Regions from separate parts of the Homo sapiens genome. Here regions 2, 3 and 4 are each linked to region 1. Evidence: promoter capture Hi-C in human tissues and cell types (Jung and others, 2019). All regions are on one chromosome and are shown on one strand. Each heading gives the region's core, a stretch centred on a gene start or on the middle of the fragment in contact. The rest is flanking DNA. Distances are from core to core; before and after follow the strand shown. Region 1 holds the start of ITGB2 (integrin subunit beta 2). Region 2 overlaps CFAP410 (cilia and flagella associated protein 410). Region 3 holds the start of TRPM2 (transient receptor potential cation channel subfamily M member 2). Region 4 overlaps COL18A1 (collagen type XVIII alpha 1 chain).

Evidence for each region. Contacts are between HindIII fragments. The study calls those that stand out against the background at their distance.
Region 2: a contact is called between a fragment that was not itself captured here and the fragment with the promoter of ITGB2 in region 1, in 1 of the 25 tissues and cell types used here (spleen).
Region 3: a contact is called between the fragment with the promoter of TRPM2 here and the fragment with the promoter of ITGB2 in region 1, in 1 of the 25 tissues and cell types used here (spleen).
Region 4: a fragment that was not itself captured here is called in contact with the fragment with the promoter of ITGB2 in region 1 in 3 of the 25 tissues and cell types used here (dorsolateral prefrontal cortex, heart left ventricle and spleen).

What each region holds. Positions count from the first base shown.
Region 1 is chr21:44,917,889-44,924,079 of GRCh38, reverse strand. It overlaps ITGB2 (integrin subunit beta 2), which reads left to right and starts at 3,181. Exons shown (of 16, transcript NM_000211.5): 1 at 3,181-3,259. ITGB2-AS1 (ITGB2 antisense RNA 1) reads right to left here and starts at 3,045. Exons shown (of 3, transcript NR_038316.1): 1 at 2,753-3,045. RefSeq lists a silencer at 4,531-4,590 and an enhancer at 5,674-6,191. The HindIII fragment of the contact is 46,650 bases long and covers 1-6,191 here.
Region 2 is chr21:44,330,964-44,334,977 of GRCh38, reverse strand. CFAP410 (cilia and flagella associated protein 410) reads left to right here. Exons shown (of 7, transcript NM_004928.3): 4 at 1,716-1,945; 5 at 2,964-3,135. Among named protein-coding and RNA genes, the nearest start is that of CFAP410, 6.4 kb to the left of the region's middle. RefSeq lists enhancers at 2,609-3,108, 3,109-3,610. The HindIII fragment of the contact is 7,900 bases long and covers 1-4,014 here.
Region 3 is chr21:44,351,806-44,357,996 of GRCh38, reverse strand. TRPM2 (transient receptor potential cation channel subfamily M member 2) reads right to left here and starts at 4,376. Exons shown (of 32, transcript NM_003307.4): 1 at 4,132-4,376; 2 at 3,261-3,349. The coding sequence starts at 4,296. RefSeq lists enhancers at 3,901-3,950, 4,111-4,160. The HindIII fragment of the contact is 21,861 bases long and covers 1-6,191 here.
Region 4 is chr21:45,458,018-45,464,208 of GRCh38, reverse strand. All of the region lies in intron 2 of COL18A1 (collagen type XVIII alpha 1 chain), which reads right to left. Among named protein-coding and RNA genes, the nearest start is that of MIR6815, 17 kb to the left of the region's middle. The HindIII fragment of the contact is 3,893 bases long and covers 1,325-5,217 here.

The sequences.
Region 1 (6,191 bases), core at 1,932-4,431:
TATATTTGTCAGTCTTTGTTTTATATATTTTGAAGTTCGGCACACAAAGGATTATGGCTGCTGAACTGTCTGTGGATTCTGACTCTCATTGGCTACATCTTCCTTTGTCCATTTGATGCATTTTGCTTTGATTTCTATCTTTTTGATGTTACACGATATCTTCGTTAGTATTTTCTAGCACATACGTGTATTTTCCGTTTCTTTATTTTCAGCCTTCAGTGTTCTCTTTTAACAGTTTATCTGATAGAGAGCCTTTCTTACACTTTTTACTTTTTAATTGTGATAAAATATACATAACATAAATTCACCATTTTAACCATTTGAAGTTATGCATTTCCGTGGCATTAAGGACACTTAGTACTGTGCAACCATCACCACCAACTTCTCCAAAACCATTTCATCTTGCAAAACGGGAACTTTATACCCGCGAAATAATAACTTTACACTTCCTTGAAATGTTTTTTTAATCTTACTACAAAAAATTTCACACATCTACAGAAGTAGAGAGAATAGATTAGTGAAGCCCCATGTCCCCAACAGTGGCTTCAAAAATAATCAACTCACAGGTGATCTTGTTGTATCAACACCTCTCCCGACTCTCCCCCAACCCAACCCACCCCTCTTTATTGGGAAATAAATCTGAAACATTATACTGCACCATCTGCAAATATTTCAACATGTAACTCTAAAAGATGGGGACTTTTTAACATAACCACAAACCATTGTCACACTTAAAACAATTAACAATGATTTTAAAATATGGTCCATGCATTGCAATTGGTTCTATTAAGAGATTAAATCTCTTAATCTAAAGGGTCTCTCTCCCTTCGTCTCTCCTCTTGTACTGTGCTGTTTGCCTTGTGAGGGTTTCTTCAGCCTGGATTTTGCTAATTGCATCCCTACGATGTCATCTAACACACCCTCCTGATGCTTCTTTGTAGATCTAAAAAGTTCGACCTGATTCAGGCTCAATAGTAACATTTGTTCTTTCTATTTTTCTTGATTTCTATTGTTATTTCATCAAGACTAATTCATTAAAGGTGTGTGCATAACGTCTGCTGCGTCCGTGACGTTCGCAGCGAGGGTCATTGCTTACTTTAAGTCATCAGCGGGTGTAGTAGAATGGTATTCTCTTTCTGTCCTTCTTCATTATTTTCTAGGCTAAGTCTGTAATGAGAAGATACCCTTGACAGAGAACATTTCATTGGAACTTGTTTTGTCTCTTTATTTCTAAAACCCAACGCAAGACCTTGTTGATTTAAAACAAGAAAATGTAACCCATTCACAGGTGCTGTGATTCCTGATGGGTTTGAAATTATTCCCAATGTTTTATTGTTTGGTTTTTATTTACCTTTCTTGTTTGTTCTATTTTCCCTTACTTTTTTCTTTTAAAGGATTTGCCTTTTTTTTTTTTTTTTTTTCTCAGTTACCCAGACTGGAGTGCAGTGGTGTAAGCATGGTTCACCGTAGCCTCAACCTCTTGGGCTCAAGCAATTCTCCCACCTCAGCCTCCCAAGTAGCCTGGACCATATCGCGTGCTACCATGCCTGGCGAATTCTTAGAAAATTTTTTTGTAGAGATGAGGGTCTGGGTCTCCAAATGTTGCCTAGGCTGGTCTCGAACTCCTGGGCTCAAGTGATCCTCCCACCTCGGCCTCCCAAAGTGCTGGGATTACAAGTTTGAGCCACCATGCCCAAAATAAAGATTTGTCATATTTTTTTTCAGGTATATACATGCTATTTTTATTCTTAAGGAGACTCTTGAATTGTTAGCATATATACTTAGATATTTTCTATCAAAATGCCCACTGACAAGCATCTATATTCCTCCCCAGATAGGATGGAACGGCAATGTGCTCCCTGGCCCCTCCCAACCCAGTCCTCTAGGCGTTTTGTTTCACAGCGTTAATATTCTTACCACTATTTTTTAAATCAACAGGTTATGACATCATAATTTTTACTTATTTCTTTGCCCAACTTTGTATCATCTGCTCTTGTATTTCTCATGGATTTCTTCATGTCTATTTCTGCAAGACATCTTTAAAACAGAGTTTAGGAGCCGGGAGCCATGGCTCACGCCAGTAATCCCAGCACTTTGGAAGGCAGAGGTGGATGGATCACTTGAAGCCAGGAGTTCAAGACCAGCCTGGTCAACATAGTGAAACCCTGTCTCTACTAAGAATACAAAAATTACCCAGGCGTGGTGGTACATGTGCCTGTAATCCCAGCTACTTGGGAGGCTGAGGCAGGAGAATTGCTTGAACCCGGGAGGCAGAGGTTGCAGTGAGCTGAGATCACGCCACTGCACTCCAGCCTGGGTGACAAAAGCAAAACTCTGTCTCAAAAAAAACTGAAAACATAAAAATAAATAAATAAATAAAACAGAGTTTAGGGTAGTAATGTGTCTGAGTCCTTGCTCTGAAGATGTCTGATTTGGGTTTTTTTTCTAGGTATAATCTCTTTCCCTCCTCTTCCTCCTCCTCCTCCTCTCCCTTCTCTCTCTCTCTGAGCCTGTAGTATTTTCCCTTTCGTGTTCTGTGGTATCCTCCTAATGTCCCTAGTTAACAGGACCTCATCCATCCATCCCTGGGGTGTTCAGTGGCCTCGCAATCCACGTCCCCGCCCAGATCCGCAGCCTTCCTCCTGTGACCTGAGTGTCTCCTCCTCGCTGTCCCTGTTCTGTCCCCTCCCGCCCTCACATGCAGGTGGATGTCAATGCGTGCACGCACCCAGGTTTTCTTGCCTGTTCCCACCTCTTTATCCTCCTTGGCTGGTTCCTCCGCTCCATTCTCTGGCTCAGGAATTTGCTCCCCAGGGTTTTTCATTCCGCTCTGTAGCAGAATGTGCTACTGTTGCTTTCCAGCATCAAACTTTTCACTCCCATGGCCTCTGTGTTCTTCTTCCTAATGGGTGCCCTTTCTGCCTGGCGCTCCTGGAGGCCGGGCCCCTCTCCCAAGTGTGAATCTGATGGAAGCAGGTCCTTCTCGCCGGGACCTCATGTGAGAAATGACATGTCCCACCTGTCTCAAGGGGCCGCTCTCTGACATCAGAGCTGCTGTAGAGCGGAGAGGGGCAGGGGTGAAGGGCCACGGTGGTGCAACCCACCACTTCCTCCAAGGAGGAGCTGAGAGGAACAGGAAGTGTCAGGACTTTACGACCCGCGCCTCCAGCTGAGGTTTCTAGACGTGACCCAGGGCAGACTGGTAGCAAAGCCCCCACGCCCAGCCAGGAGCACCGCCGAGGACTCCAGCACACCGAGGGTGAGTGTGCAGAGGCCCCGCTATGTCCACGGTGATTTTTGGAGGGAAGCACTCTCCTGCCCCAGCCTGGAGTGACCCTGGTGGCCCTGCTTATAGCCCCGGCCCAGGGGTGTCTGGCAGGAAGGGGTCTCCAGACCGTCTGCTCCAGGGTCCCCTTTGAGACCCGGCAAGGGGAAGTGCCTGCCACCAAGAGCAGAGCCACATGGTGTGCTGGGAGCGCTTGCGGCTGAGGATGGGGCCGGCATGGGAGGACAAGGGGCTGTGAGGCCGGCAAGGCCAGGAAGAGGCTGGGCCCACAAGCCCCTAGGGGGACGGCTGGGGGGTCCTGGTGCTCCGGGCTGGGCAGGAGGCAGGTTCCCGGGGCCTCCTCTGTGAACCTGCTGCGCCTGCCTGTGTTAGGCCCTCCTGTCTGCATGCTGCCCCGCCTGGCTACAGCGATTCCATCTCCAGATCGACTCGCAGTGTGTGGTGTGTGATATGGTGTGGTGTGGTTCGTGGTGTGTAGTGTCGTGTGTGTAGTGTGGCATGGTGTGCATGTATGGTGCACGTGTGTGGCATAGCGTAGTGTGGTGTGTGTGTGTGCATGTATGGTGTGCGAGTGTGCGCATGTGATGTGGGGAGTCTGTTGTATGTACATGTATGGTGCACATGTGTAATGTAGTGTGGTGTGGTGTGGCACATGCTCCATGCTCCTCTGGGACCCTCGAGCTTCCCTGCCTCCTCCGTGGGGACCCCTGGGTGACGTCTTGCTGTAGGGGAGCGGGCACCGCTGTGCGATTCTGGTCGAGTTGGTTCAGCTGGTGACCCTGGCCTCCCCACAACAGGCTCCTGGAGGCCATTCCCAAGGTCCTGGTGGGAGGGGGATTGAAGCCACGCCCCTGGGTCCCAGGCCCACCTGGCCCCCTTCCCCCAACACTGCACTCTTGGGGCCAGCCCTCCCCATGCATCCTCCACCCCTGGCACCACCCCTTGCACCACCGTCCCCACACCCAATCCCCCCTCCCCTGGATCTGGGAGCTGGGATTCTGCCCTGCTGTCCCTGTCCATCCGGGGCCCCTCTCCTCTGTCAGTTCCTGGGTGGGGAGAAGGAGGGGTGGCATGGCTGCAATGGGGAAGGGGGGGGATGGCCGGAGAGCTCAGCCTGGGAGCGAGCTGTGGGGGCATAGGGGACACTCGCTGTCACTCGCCTTCCCCGTGACGGTGGCGCAACGCCTGCGGGTTTGGGGGCTGAGGCCGGATTCTGGAGGCTTCACAGAAATGAGCTGCTAGAAGCTCTGGGCTGTCTGCCGTCACCCCAGCGTTTCACCATGAGTGAAGCCCAGCTCACTGCAGAATCCATGCCCAGCTCACTGCAGAATCCCCGGGGGCCAGCACTTTACCAAGAGTGGCCTCCAGACTCCACATTTTAGGAAGGAACTCCTTCCCCATCCAGCTCACAGCAGAATCCCCAGGGTCCCTGCCAGCCTGGCACCCAGCGTGCCCCTCAGTATTCTGGGGATGAGTGGGGGAGTCCCTCTGCTGGGAAGAGGTCCCTGGCTACGTCCCTGCAGGGCGGCGGCTGAGCCCATGCCTCGGCCCCAGGGCCAGTCCCCGCCGGGTGCCATCCTGAGCAGGGCCACAGAACAGATGTCCCACATGGCCAGGACCCCTGTGGCCACCTGACCCCGGGGGGGCTGTGGCCCTCGGTGAAGCAGGTGACCGGGCGGGCTGTGGGGTTTGTCAGCTCCGCAGCGTCACTGCCGCTCAGCGTATGAGTTTCCACTCCCAGCACTCAATGAACAGCTGAGCAACTGCAGGTGCCTCCGAGTGCTGGGAGAGGGGAATGCTCAGCTCCGAGTGCTGGGAGAGGGGACGCTCAGCTCCGAGTGCTGGGAGAGGGGACGCTTAGCCACCCAAGGGCCTTTGCCTCAAGGGAGTAAATAGGGGCATTTCCTGGTGGGCGTGGGCTGGGCTGGAGAAGCAGGGCCTCCTGGCAGGGGCTGGCATGAGATCCAAACACTGCCCAGGCAGCTGGACACTCCTGAGCCTGGAGCTTCTCACCTGAACCACAGGGTGGTAACCCCTGCCCCTCAGGCGGCATCGACGTGACCTGCCTAGTGCACAGTGAGCCTGAGGCAACACGGCCACCACCAGGAGACTCCCTGGGGAAGAGGCCCCCAGACAGCGAGGTGCCCATGAAGGAAGTTCTGCACAGGGGCCGCGGCCATCCAGGAGATGGGAGGGGCCCTATCTGCACCCTGTCTGGAAGGGGCATGGGGTGAGCAGGCTATTTGGTCCCCCGTGACTCAGTTTCCCCATCTGTGAAACAGGAGGGGTGGTCTGGCCAATTGTGCGCACTCCAGCTGTCTCTATAGTCAACCGTGTAACTTGAACTCACTTCCCCAGGGCTCCTGCCAGGCCCAGGTCTGTCCACTCTGGCCCAGGCCGGGCCCCACCAGGTACCAGGGCTGTGGGACATTTGCCTCTGTGGATGGGGCAGCGTGACGCCTGTGGCGATTCCATGGAACAGGTCCTGTGTGGGCCCCCCTTGCTGCACTCGTGTCCTGTGTCAGAGAACCGTGGTCCTGCCTGAGGCCATGTCACCGGAGGCTGGCTCCCGTTCCCGGAGGAGAATGCCAGCTGCCACAGGGGTCAGTGACACAGGCATTTGCCCAGCAGGTACAGGCCAGGTCGCTGGGAAGCCCCAACTCAAGGGGCTCTGCAGTGGGCGCCTAGCAATTATGGAGCTGTGGGTGATACCCACCCCAAGCCGGACCTGGTGCCAGCAATTATCCCTCCCATTCTGCTTGGCACAAACTGGCACTGACACGGGGCATTGATTAGGTGGTTGCATTTGTCGATTCCGAGCCCATGTGTGTGGAGCCCAGGCCCTGAGCAAGCACAGAGGGCCCTGGTGCTGTCCTGAGCTGAGGCCCCTGCCCACCCCGGGCTG
Region 2 (4,014 bases), core at 949-3,448, 590 kb after region 1:
GTATTGCAGGCCCCTGGTCCCTGACTGTGACCTACCTTCTTGATCTCACAGGCAGCCACGGGGTAGGCCAGCCCCTGCCCATCCTCCGTAATGCCCTCTGAGGTTGGCATTGCCATGTTGATGCCCGTGCCCAGCCTGCTGCCCGCCATGGGCTGAGGCCAGTCCATCTGGTGTTCAGGCATCCCCAGCGCGGGCACCAGCCTGTCCTGCCCGAGCCTTGCTGAATGAATGAAATGGGCTTGGAGGCATGCTCATGGGTCAAATCTCAGCCCTCCCATCTATTGGCTGGCTAACCTTGGGCGAGGCATGGCCCTCTCTGTGCCTCAGTTTCCTTTCTGTAACATGGAGGTATTACAAGTGCCCACCCCACAGGGAGATGAGGAGGAGATGGAGCCCGAGTCCAGAGGTTGAGCAGGGGTGCGCGTGCCCGCCCAGAGGTTGAGCGGGGGGGGGGGGGGGGTGCGCGTGCCCGCCCAGAGGTTGAGGGGGGGTGCGCGTGCCTGCCGCGGGGCTCGTTTCACTAGTCAGGCGACACAGTGAGGCTGGGATTTCAGGCCTGCCTCCGAAAGGCTTACCTGACAGGGAAACGTGGAGCTTGTGGTTCCCACGGTGGCAGGAAGCTTGGGGCGGGGCTGTGGATCCAGCCCTATCCCTGCCGCTCACTGAGTCACCCAGGGGCCACAGGGCCTCCGAGCATCAGGCCGCTCGTGTGTGGGGCCATTTCTGTCACATCTCGGGAGGGACAGGACCCCAGGGGTGTTGACCGAGCTCAGGTGCGTGGTGCCTGCACGCCTGACTGCACTGGAGCGGAGCAGGAAGCCTCGAGGCCGCGGACGCGGTCGGTACATCACGCTGCTGCCTGTGCCTGAGGCAGACCCCATCCTGGAAAGAGTCCCACAGCCGGAGTTTTGCTCTTGGTAAAATGGGGCGGCCTCATAGCTAGGAGCTGCATGAGACCTGGGAAACCCCGAGTGAAGGGATGGCATGGGGAGGGGGGCTCAGGACGGCAGGCTGCCCATGGGGGCCTGGTGACCGCCCTTCTGAGGCGCCTGCCGGACGCGAGTGCAGCCCTCCAGGCAGGGGGCCCTGGCTCCGCGCCTTTGAGGGCCTGCGGGAGCGGCTCCGCGTGTTCGCTTGTGGAGGGGACGGACCCCACGCTGCAGGGTAAAGCCTGCAGGTCCCCGCTCCAGGCCTGCTGTTTCTCTTCTCTGACGCGTCCACGTTCTGTAGAATGGAAATGAGGCCCATCCCCAGTGTTGCCGCCCTCAAGTGGGGGTTTGGAAGGTCCGTGCTCACTCCCATGTCACGTGGAGCTGGCTCCTAGTTTTTGCCATGAGTTTTTCTGGCCGCTCCCTGCTTTGGGGCAACATGATATGTCCCCTGAGAGGCCTTAATTTTCCTCACCTGTGAAGGAGGGCCACATCCCCCACCTCCCGCACTCTAGCGCCCTGAGGAGCTGATGTGGAGCGTCGGGCCAAGGGGCTGTTGCTGGTGGGGTCCACCCCAGTCCGCCTTTGAGTTCAGGGCCTGGCCTTCCTACAGCTCTCTCCTCGGCCCAGGTCCTGCTGCACGTGACTTGTGACATCCGATTTAGGCTTCTCAGGAGAGGGCAGGGACACAGGTCCCATGAGTGCCTTTTACTGGGGGTGGGGATTGAGAGGTGGCCCTGGGGGCCCTGGCCACGTCCCTCGCTGACTGTGCTGGTCTCCGTGCAGTGTCAACAGCATCTCCACCCTGGAGCCTGTGAGCCGGTGCCAGCGCCTGAGTGAGCTGTACCTGCGGAGGAACCGCATCCCCAGCCTGGCTGAGCTCTTCTACCTGAAGGGGCTGCCGCGTCTGCGGGTGCTGTGGCTGGCCGAGAACCCGTGCTGCGGCACCAGCCCCCACCGCTACCGCATGACCGTGCTGCGCACCCTGCCGCGCCTACAGAAGCTGGACAACCAGGGTAGGTGGCCGCAGCGGAGTCACCGGCCCTCCCAAAACAATCCCTGGAAGGGGATGTCCCCAGCCCTCTTTTCTCTTCTCCTTTTCTGCAAATACCTGGTCTGGCGGGACATAGATGTGTCCTGTGAAGTCTCCTCCAGAGGCTGTTCCCCTGGCTTCTGTGTCTCCTCTTGATCCCGCCACCCGAATGCAGCAGCGCAGCGTAGGGTCCCTCCTGGGACTGACAGTTTGGGTATCCCCCAACGACCGCAGGACCTGGTAGCAAAGCAAAAGGGTTCCTTCTTTTGCTTCTGTGAGTAGCAGCCCTGCTCTGACCATCGCCATGCGCCATGGCGAGCGGGGGCGTCAGTATCTGGCAAGCAGCATCGCACTGGTCCACAGGGACTGGGCAGGCTCCACGGGCCACTGTGAACCTAGGGTGGCGGTGCCATCGCGCCCCTGCCGTGGGGAGGGGCCGTCCCAGCACCGCAGTGCCTGCTGCTGCGCTCCACCTATTGGAGGCACTCGTGCCTCCTCTAGCCAGCGCCAGCACCGACACAGTTTTCCAGGCTGTGGTTTCATGCTGTTTGTTCATCCTTGGCATTCTCAGCACACTAGTGTCTCATCCTTGTCAGGTATACAGACACCACTATTTTCTCCCAGACAATTTTATTGATATTAATAATATAAACTTCAGGGAAATTGATATATGAGAGAAATGGAATAAATTCAATATGGTCTGTTCCTTTTTCTATTGTGTCTTAGTTGAGGTTTTGAGGAGTATTTGCTTCTGGCCAAGGCTGGTGTTGAGATTCCTGAGCAGCCCTCCACCATCTGTTGTGTGTCAGCCTGTGCCAGGCTGGGGATGGGACAGTGAGGAACCGGCTGCTACTCTGGGAGTTGTCCCTGGAGGTGGATACACGTGCATGCATTTCACAAGCAGACTGTGCCTGAAGCCACAGTGAGGACGGGAGCTGCAGTGCATGTGGCCTGCACGTGGGTGAGGCCACTCATGCTGTCTTCTGTCTTTCATCCCAAAGCTGTGACGGAGGAGGAGCTGTCCCGTGCACTGAGTGAGGGAGAGGAGATCACTGCGGCCCCAGAGAGAGAGGGCACAGGCCACGGCGGCCCCAAGCTATGCTGCACACTGAGCTCCCTCAGCTCCGCTGCTGAGACTGGCCGGGACCCGCTGGACAGCGAGGAGGAGGCAACGTGAGGCTGGAGGGCAGCGGGGACTCCGCAGCCCATCCCTGTCCCCCAGGGTCCTCCCACGGGGAGTGAATGGGGCTTCCCGTGAGCTGCGTCTCTGGGAAGTGAGGGACAGGGATTATCCGGGGGGAGTGTCTGTTCTCATCCATATTCTCTGGGAGTGACTCAGTGCCCAGGTAGTGATTTCAGTGGCAGGTCCATGTTTTGCCCAACAGCGGATGTGCCAGGGAGCAGGAGAGGGGGTGAGCCAGGCCCCGTGCCCTGGCACAGAGAAGGCTCACAGCACCAGAGCTCGTGAGGTGCAGGGAGCCCCTGGTGGGGGGGGTGGCCTAGGGCCACAGTGACTGGAATGGTTTGTGGGCACGGCCATCAGTGCCCGTATGGCCTTGGGCCTGGGGGCCGTGGAGGGGCCACAGGGCTGACTCTGCAGTGAGACGCCGGCGCCTCCCAGGGCAGTTGGCAGCGGGTCACGAACGCATTTGACAGAAGCTGGGCACTTCTCTCCTGCTTGGCAGATCACACCCGCTGCTGGTGCCTGTGGTGGGGGCATCGGGATGTGATCTCTGTTAGGCATCTGCCATCCGGCACAGGGCCTGACCCCATGGTCAGGAGCTCTCCCCCGGCATTTGTGTGTTCGGGTGCCCCCCACCCTGCCCCTGAAGCCCTGGGTGGAAGGTGTTACAGCTGGGGAGCCCCAGGGTGCCGGGAGGGCGCCCCACAGGTGAAGTAAGTGCCGGGCTCTCCAGGAGCTGCCATCTGTAGCCCCTGACCTCCCAGGAGTTGCCTCCCTTCTCTTGCCCCCGTGTGCCAGGTGGGATTTGTATGAGCCCCTCCTTTGCTTGGATGCGACCCGCAGACAGGGTTTGCAGAGGCCCCCCCGGT
Region 3 (6,191 bases), core at 3,127-5,626, 570 kb after region 1:
CGTTCCGCCCTGGTCTTTCCACAAGAAGGAGGGACATTCCATCCACTCCTCAGGAAGGAACAGCCAGGAACACACCTGGTCCCTCTTCCCATCCTGCTGCAGTGACCACCGTGGTTGGTGAGATGAGAGCGGCTTCTGTGCGGGACAGACTCGGTGCAGCAGATCTCAGGTTGCCTTCTCAGAGGGGCCTGCTTTCAAGGTGGTGTCTGGGAACGGGGCTTTTGGAGCGTCTCTCCGTCCCCTGACTGCTAGGAGTGCTTTGCCGGGCCTGGACTGTTCCTGCAATGGGTTTGTGCTGAACAGCTGCTTTCCTGCTGGGAGTCTGGGATTTGGGTGGTTGCCATGCAGAGGGGCCCACGTGGCCAGCGCAGGATGCACGCCCTGGGCTCTGAGCCTCGAATGGGCTTTGCAGGTGGCCACGTGCTTCTCGGCTAGAGGAAGGAGCATGCATGGCGCCTGCACAGGAGAGCCGCAGCAGCCTGCCCTCAGATTCTCCAGACTCGGCCTGTGTCTTTCTCCCTTGCCAAGCCCATCACGTAGGCCTTCACCATGATAAACCTTAGCTGTGTGCACAGCTGTGAGTCCTAGCAAACCCCTGAGCATGGGGGATGGCTTTGGGGACCTCCAGAAGCAAGTCTGTCCTGCTTACATCTGATCCAGGTCAGCACCCCTTCCTCTCTGGGCCCTGCTGCCCCAAGGGTTTCCACTTCCATGTGAGAAGCACGCAGAGCCGACTGGCAGAGGCCCCAGACCCACGGGGCCTCACCTAGGCTTCTCAGGACACAGCAGGTCAGGGTGTCAGCGGCGTTCAAACCAGAGTGAGTCCCATCTTGAATAGGCGCTGGGTGAAATGAGGCTGAAACCTGCTGGGCTGCCTTCCCAGACGGTTAAGGCATTCTAAGTCACAGGATGAGACAAGAGGTCAGCAGAAGACACAGGTCACAAAGACCCTGCTGATAAAACAGGGTGCAAGACACTGGGTAAAACCCACCAAAACCAAGATGGCGACGAAAGTGGGCTCTGGTTATCCTCGCTGCCCATTACACGCTAATTATAACATATTAACATGTAAGAGACACTCCCACCAGCACCATGACAGTTGGCAGATGCCATGGCAACATCAGAAATACCCTGTATGGTCTGAAAGAAAGAGGAAATCAGTTCTGGGAAATCCCCGCTCCTTTCCCATAAAACTCATGAATAATCCACCCTTGTTAAGCACATGATCCAAAACTACCATAAAAATAGCCAACCAGCCAAGCACGGTGGCTTATGCCTGAAATCCCAGCACTTTGGGAGGCCAAGGCTGGTGGATCACCTGAGGTCAGGAGTTCCAGACCAGCCTGGCCAACATGGTGAATCGCATGAACCTGGGAGACGAAGGTTGCAGCGAGCCAAGATCATGCCATTGCACTCCAGCCTGGGCGACAGAGCGAGACCCCGTCTCAAAAAAAAAAAAAAAAAATAGCCAAGCAGCAGCCCTCAGGGCTGCTCTGCCTATGGAGAAGCCATTCTTTTATTCCTTTACATTGTTAATAACTTGCTTTCACTTTACTCTGTGGACTCGCTCCAAATACTTTCTCGTGTGAGATCCAAGAACCCGCCCTTGGGGTCTGGATCGGGACCCCTTTCCAGTAACAAGGGTGAGCTCCGAGGCTGGAGTACCACTGCTCTACAGACCCCGCTCCTTCCACATGGGGCTCTTCATCACTGTCTCTACATCCAGCCCTCCATGGCCGCGAGTTTTGCATCTGCAGATTCAGCCAAACGCAGACTAAAAATATTCAGGAAAAAAAAAACAATTAAAAATAACATAGCCAGATGCAGTGGCTCACGCCTGTAATCCCAGCACTTTGGGAGGCCGAGGCGGGTGGATCACCTGCCTCGGCCTCCCAAAGTGCTGGGATTACAGGCGTGAGCCACCGCGCCCGGCCCAAAAATACAAATTTTTTAAATGCAGTATAACTATTTTTATAACATCTACATTGTATCAGGTATTATAAGTAATCTAGAGATGATTTAAAGTATGCTGAAGGATGTACATAGTTTATATGCAAATACCACACCATCTCATATCAGTGACTTGATATGAGATTTTGGGACTGATACGAGATATGGGATTTTGGTGTCCGTGGGTGTCCGGGAACAATTCCCCAGGGATGCGGAGGGACAGCTGTTGTATTGGTGACCGTGAAACTCTGATGATGTACCGAGTACACTAGAGGTACCCTGGGGCAACACAGTCTTCTTCTATTTCCCAAGCACAGGATGCTTCTCCCTCCCCATATTCAGTAAATATGAGCTGAAGGCCACTCTCTGGGAATTAACACAACACTCTGCTTTCGTCCCAGCCCCCCAGAAGCTCAGCAGCTAGCAAGAAAGATGAACACAAAGCCACACAGTTACAGCACGACAGCTGGGATCAAAGAGAAACACACGGTGCGGTAGGAGGGAAGCTCACTTCCTGGTAGAGGTTGTATAGTCACGGAAGGCTGCACGGCAGAGGCAGCATCTGCAATAGGCCTTGAGGGATAAGTAGGAGCTCACCAGGCAATGGAGTAAAAGGAGGAAGCGTGTGGCCCATTTGTGGAAGAGCATGAAATGGGTGTTGCTCGGGGAGGGCACACAAACATGAATCAACACTCTGTCCGTGCCTAAAGGGGCGCCAACTGCGGGGAGCACCATCGGCTCCGGAGGGCCATATCCAGCCACTCAGAGACAGTGGCCATGTTGCCTGGGCGGGGGTCTTGGCCACACCTGAGTCGTGGGCTCTGTGGGGAGGAGGGGCAAAGGGGGCTCTGTGGGGCCTGGGGGCAAGTCGGGCCTCTGGCTTTGGCAAGCTGTGCAGGGGGGCAGTCTTCTGGCCATGGACTCTCCCTAAGGCCCTTCCAGTTCCTGGACCCTGGGACTCTCTCTCTTGGGGTGGGGGCAGGTGTGGAAATGAGAGGATTAGAGGATGCATCTGTGTTCACACCACTGGGCCTCGCCGCGCGACAGTGCCCTTATGACCCTGAACAAGTCACCTAAACTCTGCACTTTGGTCCCTGCACCTGCGAGGCAGGATGAGGGTCAACTGTCCCCGACAGGAGGCTTGCAAGGGTTAGGTGGAAATGCTCTGTGGACTCTAAGCCTCGTATGGAGACAGAGGTATCTCCAGTGACCCTTCACTGAGGCCCTGAGGGGTCTTGGCCTGATCAGCTACTCCATGTGGGATCGGAAGGAAGAAGTCAGAGGTCTTACACACAAATCACGTCACTTACCCAGCATCAGACAGTTTGGAACTTTCCACAAAATACACGCATTCTTTCTTCTTGATGTTTTCAGGAATCCACGAACTGAGGCTTTCTTGCTGAAGGTAAAGACAGCACACTGAGATCTTCCAACATTCGAAAGAGCACACCCAGCCCCCTGGAGACACATCTGAGCTCCTTGAGGAGCTTTCACACTATTTGCTTGAAGGAAGGAAGCCTGCGCGACCCTGAGCCAAAGATTAGAAGCACCTTGCCAAGACTCTCCGGTGGGGATTCAGGAGGGAGGAATGAATCTAAGAAATCATTTCCTCTTGGGACCATTTTGAATGTGCGCGCACTTTACAGTTTCTACAGCACCACCACCTTCCTTGGGAACAACATGGTGTGGTGGAAAACGTGGAGGCTGGGGATCTGGGGACCTGGATCTTGCACCATCGGAAAAAGGGCAGCCACCCTCCTGCCTGCCTGGCAAGGGGACTGCAAGATGCCATGTGCTTTCAACATACTTGTGTCTTTGTATCCAGGGCTTTGGGGAAAGCTAGCCCAGGCCCAGGCCCTCCCAATCGGATAAAGGATGTGAAATCATTATGCAACAAGGTAAGCACGGGTAACAGATTTCCAGGACTCTAGCGCAACATTTTTGAGTTAACCCGGTGATTTCCCAATCAGACCAACCATGGGAAATGGTCATGCAACCCACAGAAGACGAGACACGCATCACCCTCCCCAGTTCTGTTCTCCCAAAGGTATGGTTGGGCAGGAGCCCCCAAGGTCAGCAGACCCTTTCCCACCCCCGTCGTCACAGCCTCAAGCTATGACCTGCCCAACGGTGACCTCCGTGGCCACGTGCCAACTGCAGGCTGACCAGCAGAAAGCCTACCTTGTCATTGTTGCCGAAGGGGCACTGTAGCCTCCAGCTCTTGAAGAGGCTGCTGTTGCTGCGCCGGAGATTGGAGACCATCCCCAGGTCAGTGACCCTTCTGGGCAGCCCCTCAAAGCCCTCCTCCTGCTCCGAGCCAGCTTTCCTCAGGGCTGAGGGCTCCATTCTGAGACCCCCACGCCAGCTGCAACCAGGCCTGCTGCCCTCAGGACAGTCCTCTCTCCAGCTCGCTACACTGGGGTTCTAGAGACACATGGGGTGGTTGCTGAAATAGATCAGAGACAGGAAGATGAGGCTGATGTTCTGAGAGGACCTGGCCACATGCTTCCTCATGTGAAGCCCTCATCCGGTTCTCTTCATCAGCCTGCACATGTTCCCAGCTGCCTGAGCTGTGTCCCTTGGCTGGGGCCCCCGGACACTCTGGGGGAGTACATGCACATGCGGGGGTCCCAGCGGCCGTTCATAATGGTAACAACCTCAGGTGACTGCAGGGCCAGAGAAAGAGCTCCCTCCCCCACGGGTGCAGCTGCACTGAGCACCGCACAGGGAAGTCTCCACCGCCAGCACCAGCTGCCAGCGACATGGTTTCGCAACTGTACAATTCTGCACAGCTCCTGCTTCCAGACACCAGTGACTACTTTCATATTCCAAAATTTTTTTAAATAGCCCTCACTGTCCACAAAGGAAGTTTCTTTTTCTTCTTGTTTTTTGAGACGGAGTCCCACTTTGTCGCTCAGGCTGGAGTTCAGTGACGCAGTCTCGGCTCACTGCAACCTCGGTCTCCCTGGTTCAAGTGATTCTCCTGCCTTAGCCTCCCCAGTAGCTGGGATTATGGGCGCCAATCACCACACCCTGCTAATTTTTTTTGTATGTAGTAGCAACAGGGTTTCACCATGTTGGTCAGGTTGGTCTCAAACTCCTGACCTCAGGCGATCCACCAGCCTCCGCTTCCCAAAGTGCTGGTTTTACAGGCGTGAGCCACTGTGCCCAGCCTAGAAAGGAAGTTTTGGGGAGTACCACATCTCTCCACTCCAGGAAAAAGACAATAATTCAAATGAATCTTTTTCTCTCATATCCTTTCCCCCTGGCTCTGATGTGGCCTTCATCACCGAGGCCACAAGAAGCCACCGGATGACTGCCCTCCCTTTACAAATGAGAAACATAAGCATGTTCAAGCCCTGCGGGGCCTCCCTGAGTCCCTGACACCCACAGTGTTCTCATGAGGTCATCCATGGTCATCCCCTGCCACTGCCCCAAAGGTGTCAAGGGGAGGGTTGCTGGGATGCAAAAGATCTGACTGGAATCCCCCCTCATCCCTGCCCTGAAACCAGATCTCTGGCCACGTCCTCTCCACTACACACGACGGTCACTGTCAGACAAGCCTTTGCTCTGCCGTCCCCTCATCACATTAGGTGACTGAGCCCCTCTTCGGGGCCACGCAGCTCGAAGCTCGGTGCCGGGCTCTTGGGGCTGAGCTACGGGCTGCTGTCCTGGGGCGGGCACTCTCAGGCAACCCCACCTCCCCCTCTCCCTCCTCCCCTTTGCCCCTTGGCCACACTCATTCCGAGACCCGTAAACTTCACTGGCAGGATGGCAGGGGTGCCCTGCCCGGCCTTTTCCTGCAGTTCTCAGAGCAGATGTTGTGCCGCATGCCAGTGGGGTCTTTCCAGGGCCATGAGCTGTCCCCGCAGCCACTGGCCCGGCTTCACAACCAGCTTCCGAGGGAAGCAGAGGGGCAGAGATGTCCCCAGTGGCAGGAGGAAGAGGAGGCTCTAGAGAGATCGCAGTGGCACCGCAAGGGGACCCAGACTGCAGGTGGCTCCCCAGGCAGGCGGTCCACCCTGCACGGGATGAGGATGGCTCCACGCTGGAAACGAAGACCCCAGCATCAGACGGGAGGGTCCACGGTGTGGGACTCTCTGCCTTAAGACCAGCATGTTCTGTTCACACGCTCATCTTTCAGGCAGCTGTCCACCTCAGCACAGCCCCTGGGGTCTTGTGCAGGTTCCTCTAATCCCAGAGGCAAGCAGGCCCTGGGAAGCAGGTCAGACCTGCTCCAG
Region 4 (6,191 bases), core at 2,022-4,521, 540 kb before region 1:
ACTACGGGATCCACCTCTGCCCCAGTGCCTGGGCACTGTGCTACTCCCGAGGGCTGGGCAACCTGGAAATGTGGTCACTCTGCCCCCGCAGATGTGTGTCTCTTCCTGAGAGCTAGAGGCTTCCATCATGGTTTGGCTCCAGCCCAGTTCTCAAAGCTCCAGCCTCTGAGCTCTGGACCCAGCCACAGTGCCCATAGGGAGTTTCTCCCCGCATTTGGCATAGCTGGGTGGCATCCAGGCTAGACACCTGCACATGATATAACAATGATGATGCCTCAAGACTTGATTTCTTTCCTTTTCTTTTTTTTTTTTAGATGGAGTTTCGCTCTTGTTGCCCAGGCTGGAGTACAGTGGTGCAATCTCAGCTCACCACAACCTCCACCTCCCAGGTTCAAGCAGTTCTCCTGCCTCAGCATCCCGAGTAGCTAGGATTACAGGCATGCACCACCATACCCAGCTAATTTTGTATTGTTAGTAGAGATGGGGTTTCTCCGTGTTGGTCAGGCTGGTCTCCAACTCCCGACCTCAGGCGATCCGCATGCCTCGGCATCCCAAAGTGCTGGGATTACAGACGTGAGCCACCATGCCTGGCCAAGACTTGATTTCTTGACAGAAAGAAACGTGTTTGAAAATGATTCTGGAGTACTCTGGTAAATGGCAGATGGAAAGCGCCAGGAATCCATCTCCCCAACTAATTAACAAGTGCATGGGCAGAATTTGTCTTAGAACTCTTTTGGAACTCTGGAGTCTACTGAAAGCTTGCAATGTCCACAGGAAGGCTTGGACGGTAACGGGTGGTTAATTTAGCTAAACCCCAGCTCTTGGCACAATAGCAGCCACACATCCATCCTCCACCCCCATTCCCATAGCAGGTGCCATGCACGAGTTCCTGGAGCAGCAGCCACACAGCTTGTGGGAAACAGGACGGCAAAAAGGACCCTGTCCTGCAGACATCGAGAACCTGTGCTCTGATCAGGTTGCCTGGGATCACAGATGTGCAGACAGGGAGGTGGGGCCATTGTTTTACACTCCCTCTGTTGTTGCAAGCTGCCCCTTCCAGCTGAAGTGACTTGAAGGGGATTTAGAGGGCTGGCACTGTTTTTTCTCCCTCATTTTTATCTTATTCCTCCTTTGGGAGCCAAACATGAAAGAACGGGACATTGAAAAACAGCAGCATGTAAGAGGAAAATTAGAAAGTGGCTGCACACACCCAGGGAAAGGGACAGGCTCAGAAAAGACCTGAGAAGACCTGAAGTTCACACCTAAGGGAGATTTCTGGCACAGACACAAAACATTTTTTAAAAAGTAACAAAAAAAAGCGAACGCTGGTGAAGGGCAAAATTCAAGAGCCACATTACTGAGTTCAAATGTTCACTTTTTAACACAAAATCACAAGGCACACAAAGCAATAAGAAAATATAGCACATTCAAAGGAGAAAAATAAATTAACAGAAGCTGTCTCTGCAAAAGACCTGATGGCAGATCTACTAGACAAAGACTTTAAAATGACTGTCTTAAAGATGCTCAAAGAACTACAGGAAGGTGTGGAGAAAGTCAAGAAAGTGATGTATGAACAACATGGAAATATCAATATAAAAACCTTGAAAGAAACCAGAAAGAAATTACAGAACTGAAAAGTACAATAGCTGAAATTGAAAACATCACTAGAGGAATCTGAAGGTGATTTGAGCAGACAAAAGAATAAATTAATGAGCTTGAAGATAAGATAATGGAAATTTTCAAAGACAAAAGATGAAAGAAAGGTGAAAAGAGCCTAAGGGGCTTGTGGCCACCATCAAGAGACAAGGAAGCATGCATGCCGTGGAAGCTGCAAACAGAAGAGAAAAAGAAAGGTGCAGAGAGACTATCTGAAGAAATAATGGCTGAAAGCTTCTCAAATTTGTTGGGAGACATGAATATAAACAGTTAAGAGCTCAGGGAACTCCAAGTAAGGTAAACTCAAAGAGACTCACACCAAGTTACATTATCATCAAACTTTCAAAAACAGAGAGAGAATCTGGAAAGCAGCAAGAGAAAAGCAACTGATCACATCCAAGGGCTTCTTAATAAGATTATCAGCAGATTTGTCACAGAAACTTTGGAAGCCAAAAGGCAGTGGACCAATATATTCAATGTACTAAAAGAAAAAAAAAACTGTTAACCAAGAGTCCTATATCCAGTAAAACTGTCCTTCAAAAGTGAGGGAGAAATTGGCATTCCCAGATAAACAAAAGCTAAGGGAGTTAATTGCCACTAGACCTGCCCTGCAGAAAATGGTCCAGGGAGTCCAGCAGGTAAAATGAAAGGACACTAGTCAATAACAGTAAGTCACATGAAGAAATGAAGATCTCAATAAAGGTAAATACATGGGCAATTATAAAAGCTGGTATTGCAACAACAGTTTGTAACTGCACTTTTTATGAATGAACCTGGAGGATATTAAACTAAAGGAAATAAGGCAGGCATAGAAGCAAATACTGCATGATCTCACATGTGGGATCTAAAAAAGTCACATTCATAGGAGCAGAGTAGAATGGTGGTTGTCAGGGGCTGAGGTCTAGGAAGGACAAATATGCGTGTGTGCCACAGATGTGGCTAGCAAGGAAGCCTCGAGGGGGGCCCAGCAGCCTGGCTCCAGACTGCTCTTCAGCATTGCAGCAGATGCAGGACAAGGAAGAGCCCTGCAGGGGGGCACCAGGAGACCAGCAGGTGTCCACCCTAATGGTGCAGGCCATCTGATAAGGGGTAGGGACTGGTGCCGGATGGACGGTGCCCATGCACAGAGTGGGGTGCAATGGGGCACAGCTGCCACCCCACTCTGTGCATAGGCAACGGGGGCCTCCTTGACTTACTGTTACTGAGTAGTGTCCTTTCATTTCGCCTGTTGGACTACTGGACCATTTCCTGCAGGGAAGGTCTAGTGGCAATTAACCCCCTTAGCTTTTGTTTATCTGGGAATGCTAACAGGGCACAGCCGAGGCCAGCCCACAGAGAAGAGGAAATGTGACTGTTGGTCGAAGGGTACAAAGTTTCAGTTATGCAGGAAAAGTAAGTTCTAGAGGTCTAATGTACACATGGTGATTACAGCTAGAATACTGTATCGCATATGGCACTTCAAACTTGAGTAGATCTTAAGTTTTCTCACCACACTCACAACGGTAACTGGTTGAAGTGATAGATGTCCACTAGCTTGACCTTAGATATATACAAAAACCCAAATATACGTAAAAGGACCTGCAGGAAGCCCTGTTTGGAGTGCTGTGCTTTTCATTCTGTCTGTGCTTAGTTCAGAATCACACAAGATCTTGTACCCACAGACAACTGCACCCAATGCACTGGGCCCTTGACACTCCAGTAGGAGTTAAATGCTGAGTCACTCTTGGTGCATCTAAGAGGCATGGAGAATTTACGAGAAGCTTAGCCAGCATCATCGAAAAAATATTTGTAGGTTGCCAAGCGGTGAGAGATAAGCATGAGTTATTTCCCAGAGTGGTCTTCTCCCTTCTTAAACCAAAGTTACATGGAAACATCAAACAAATCAAAGCATTTTAAGGAGAAGGGACATTTTCTCAAATTCTGCATTTGACTAAAGGAGCAAGAGGTAAGCACCATATAAGGACACCTGTGTGCCAGTGGCTGGCCCATGGGGTAGGGAGGAGCGATGAAGGAGCAGCCCCTCGGGGCCATCATGGTGACATGACCTTCACGTGCACTCCCGTGGCCTCCCACTGACCTCCGAATGTCCAGTGATGGGGGTGGAGGCAGAGGAAGCCCCAGCCCAGGGGCCTGTGCACCACTTTCCAAGATCACGGGACTCGTGCATTTGAGATGAGCGACTTGGCCGGCGTGTGTGTGGACCTGCCTCCCGAGCACCCCGGTGGCAGCTGTGCCCAGTTGCGCCCCACTCTGTGCACAGGCACTATCCATCCCGGCACTGGTCCCTGCCCTCATCAGATGGCCTGCACCACGAGGGTGGATGCCTGCTGGTCTCCTGGTGCTCCCCGGCTGGGAGCTTGCTTGTCCTGCATCTGCTGCGATGCTGAAGAGCGCTCTGGGGCCAGGCTGCTGGGCCCTCCTCCAGGCTCCCTCCTTGCTAGCCACACTTGCGGCACGCACACGTGTCTGTCCTTCCTAGGCCTCAGTTTCTCACCTGTAAACGGGAACAATACGCAGCTCCCAGGTCAGAGGATGCTTGCCTGTAGGACTCCTTGGAAACATCACCTGCCTCCGGTCCCAGGGGCCAGGGTTTGTGAGAGCTCAGGAGGGGTGTAGAGAGCAAAGTCCAGAGGGCCAGGCACCCGTTGCTGTTGTGGGGTGACACTCCCACAGCCCTTGTGACCTGAGCTCCATGTGTCACTCACAGAGTCCCACTGAGACAGCCCAGGGGGCTTCCTGGAGGCAGTGTCCCGGGCAGCCCAAGCCCAAGCCCCGCTCGCTCACTCTTGGCAGCTGCAGCAAGGGAGCCTCCCTACCCCACCCCGGCCCTCCCGTGTGAGGGGGCCTCACTCCCTTCCTCGTGGACCTGAGGGACAAGCCCACAACACAGCAAAACCCTCCACAGGGTCCCTGCTTGTGTGCTGACCACAGGGTTCACCCTCCCTTTGAGCGCCCCCCACGCCCCAGCACGGCTGCACTGTCCCCCACACTCTCCTCGAGGTGGGCCGGCGGGGTGGACACACAGGGCAGTGCCCAGGACGAGGTGGAGGGGGCGCTGGAGATGGAGCCGGGCAGGAGGCAGCAGGACCCCTCCAGCTCCCCTCCCCTCAGGGGCACATACTCCCTGATCCCTGGAGATGCAGCCAGGGACCTCTGTGGGCCTCGAGGGCTCTGTTCTGGTGCCCGGATCACAGCCCAGCACCCCCACTTTCGGGGCCTCGAAGTCTGCCCGAGGGGTCAGGCTGGGCTCCCCCTCCTCCTCCTGCCCCTCACCCAGGGCTGGGAGTGTCCAGCCCAACATAGGGGTCCGGCAGGAGTTGGGGCTAACCCAAGAGGAGCCTGGGCTGGGGAGGAGCTGAGAGGCCAGAAGAGGGGGCAGGACCCTCCCGGCCAGGCCACACCTGGGAAGGGGCTCCTTGATAAAGCTTGAGGCCCACCCCTGGCCAGAGGCAATGCAGGCCAGGAACGCTGATGGAGTCCCCCAGGACCCTGCACGGGACACGGCCTCCCTCGCACGGGGACGCTACCAAGCTGTCCAGATGTTCAGTGAAAAGTCCCCATCAGGCTGTGCCACCGACCGGGCCAGCTGCAGTTGCAGAAATTCCTCGCCCTCACAGCCCCACTCGGACCCCAGCCCCCAAGCCATGCAGCTGTGCCCCAACTCCCAGGAGACCGGCACCTTCCCTGAGGCTGAAGCTTGCTCACAGTGCTCAGCTGATCCCAGACAGTCTCGGGCTGGCAGGGCTAGGGCAGGGTCAGGTGTGCAGGCCTGGCGTTTCCCCTCCCACAGGCTGCAGCCCTCCCAGCCCACCGCTGTCCTGTCTGCCTCCGTGGGCTTGCAGTGGAGGACAAGGTGGGCTGTGCTGGAGCCTCCCGGGGCTCCAGGACACCGGACCCGGGTCCCTCCAGTCAGTACGGCTCCTGCAAGGCTGCCCTACCCACATGCTTGGTGGGGAACAGTAGCCAGGTGGGGTGTGGCTCCGGGGGGGTTGCCTGCAAGGCGGCTGGTGCTTGCTGGGCATTTGGGTGTTCCAGGGACGGAGGATGAGTGGGACCCAGGAATCTGGCTGCTTGTGGCAGTGCCAGCTGCCCTGGGGGTGACATCTAAGCCCTGAGATGCCAACATTCGCGGGCACAGCCCCTGCCTCAGAGAGCTCCAGCCCTATGAGATGCCAACAGCCGTGGGCACGGCCCCTGCCTCAGAGAGCTCCAGCCCTACGAGATGCCAACAGCCGTGGGCACGGTCCCTGCCTGGGAGAGCTCCAGCCCTACGAGATGCCAACAGCCGCGGGCACGGCCCCTGCCTCGGAGAGCTCCAGCCCTATGCTTCTGGGGCGCATCCACAAGGGCCCCCACTCCTGCACACACCAGGCCCCCCCAGCGCAGTTCCTGTGCCCCCCTCAGGCTCAGCCAGGCCCCGCTGCAGCCCTCCCTCCCTCCCTCCCTCCCTGCCCCTCCATTCCAGCCCACGTGGGCTTTACTCCTGGGACCACCTGTTGTCAGCACTTGTCCCTGCCCTGTCTGTGGCCCCCCGG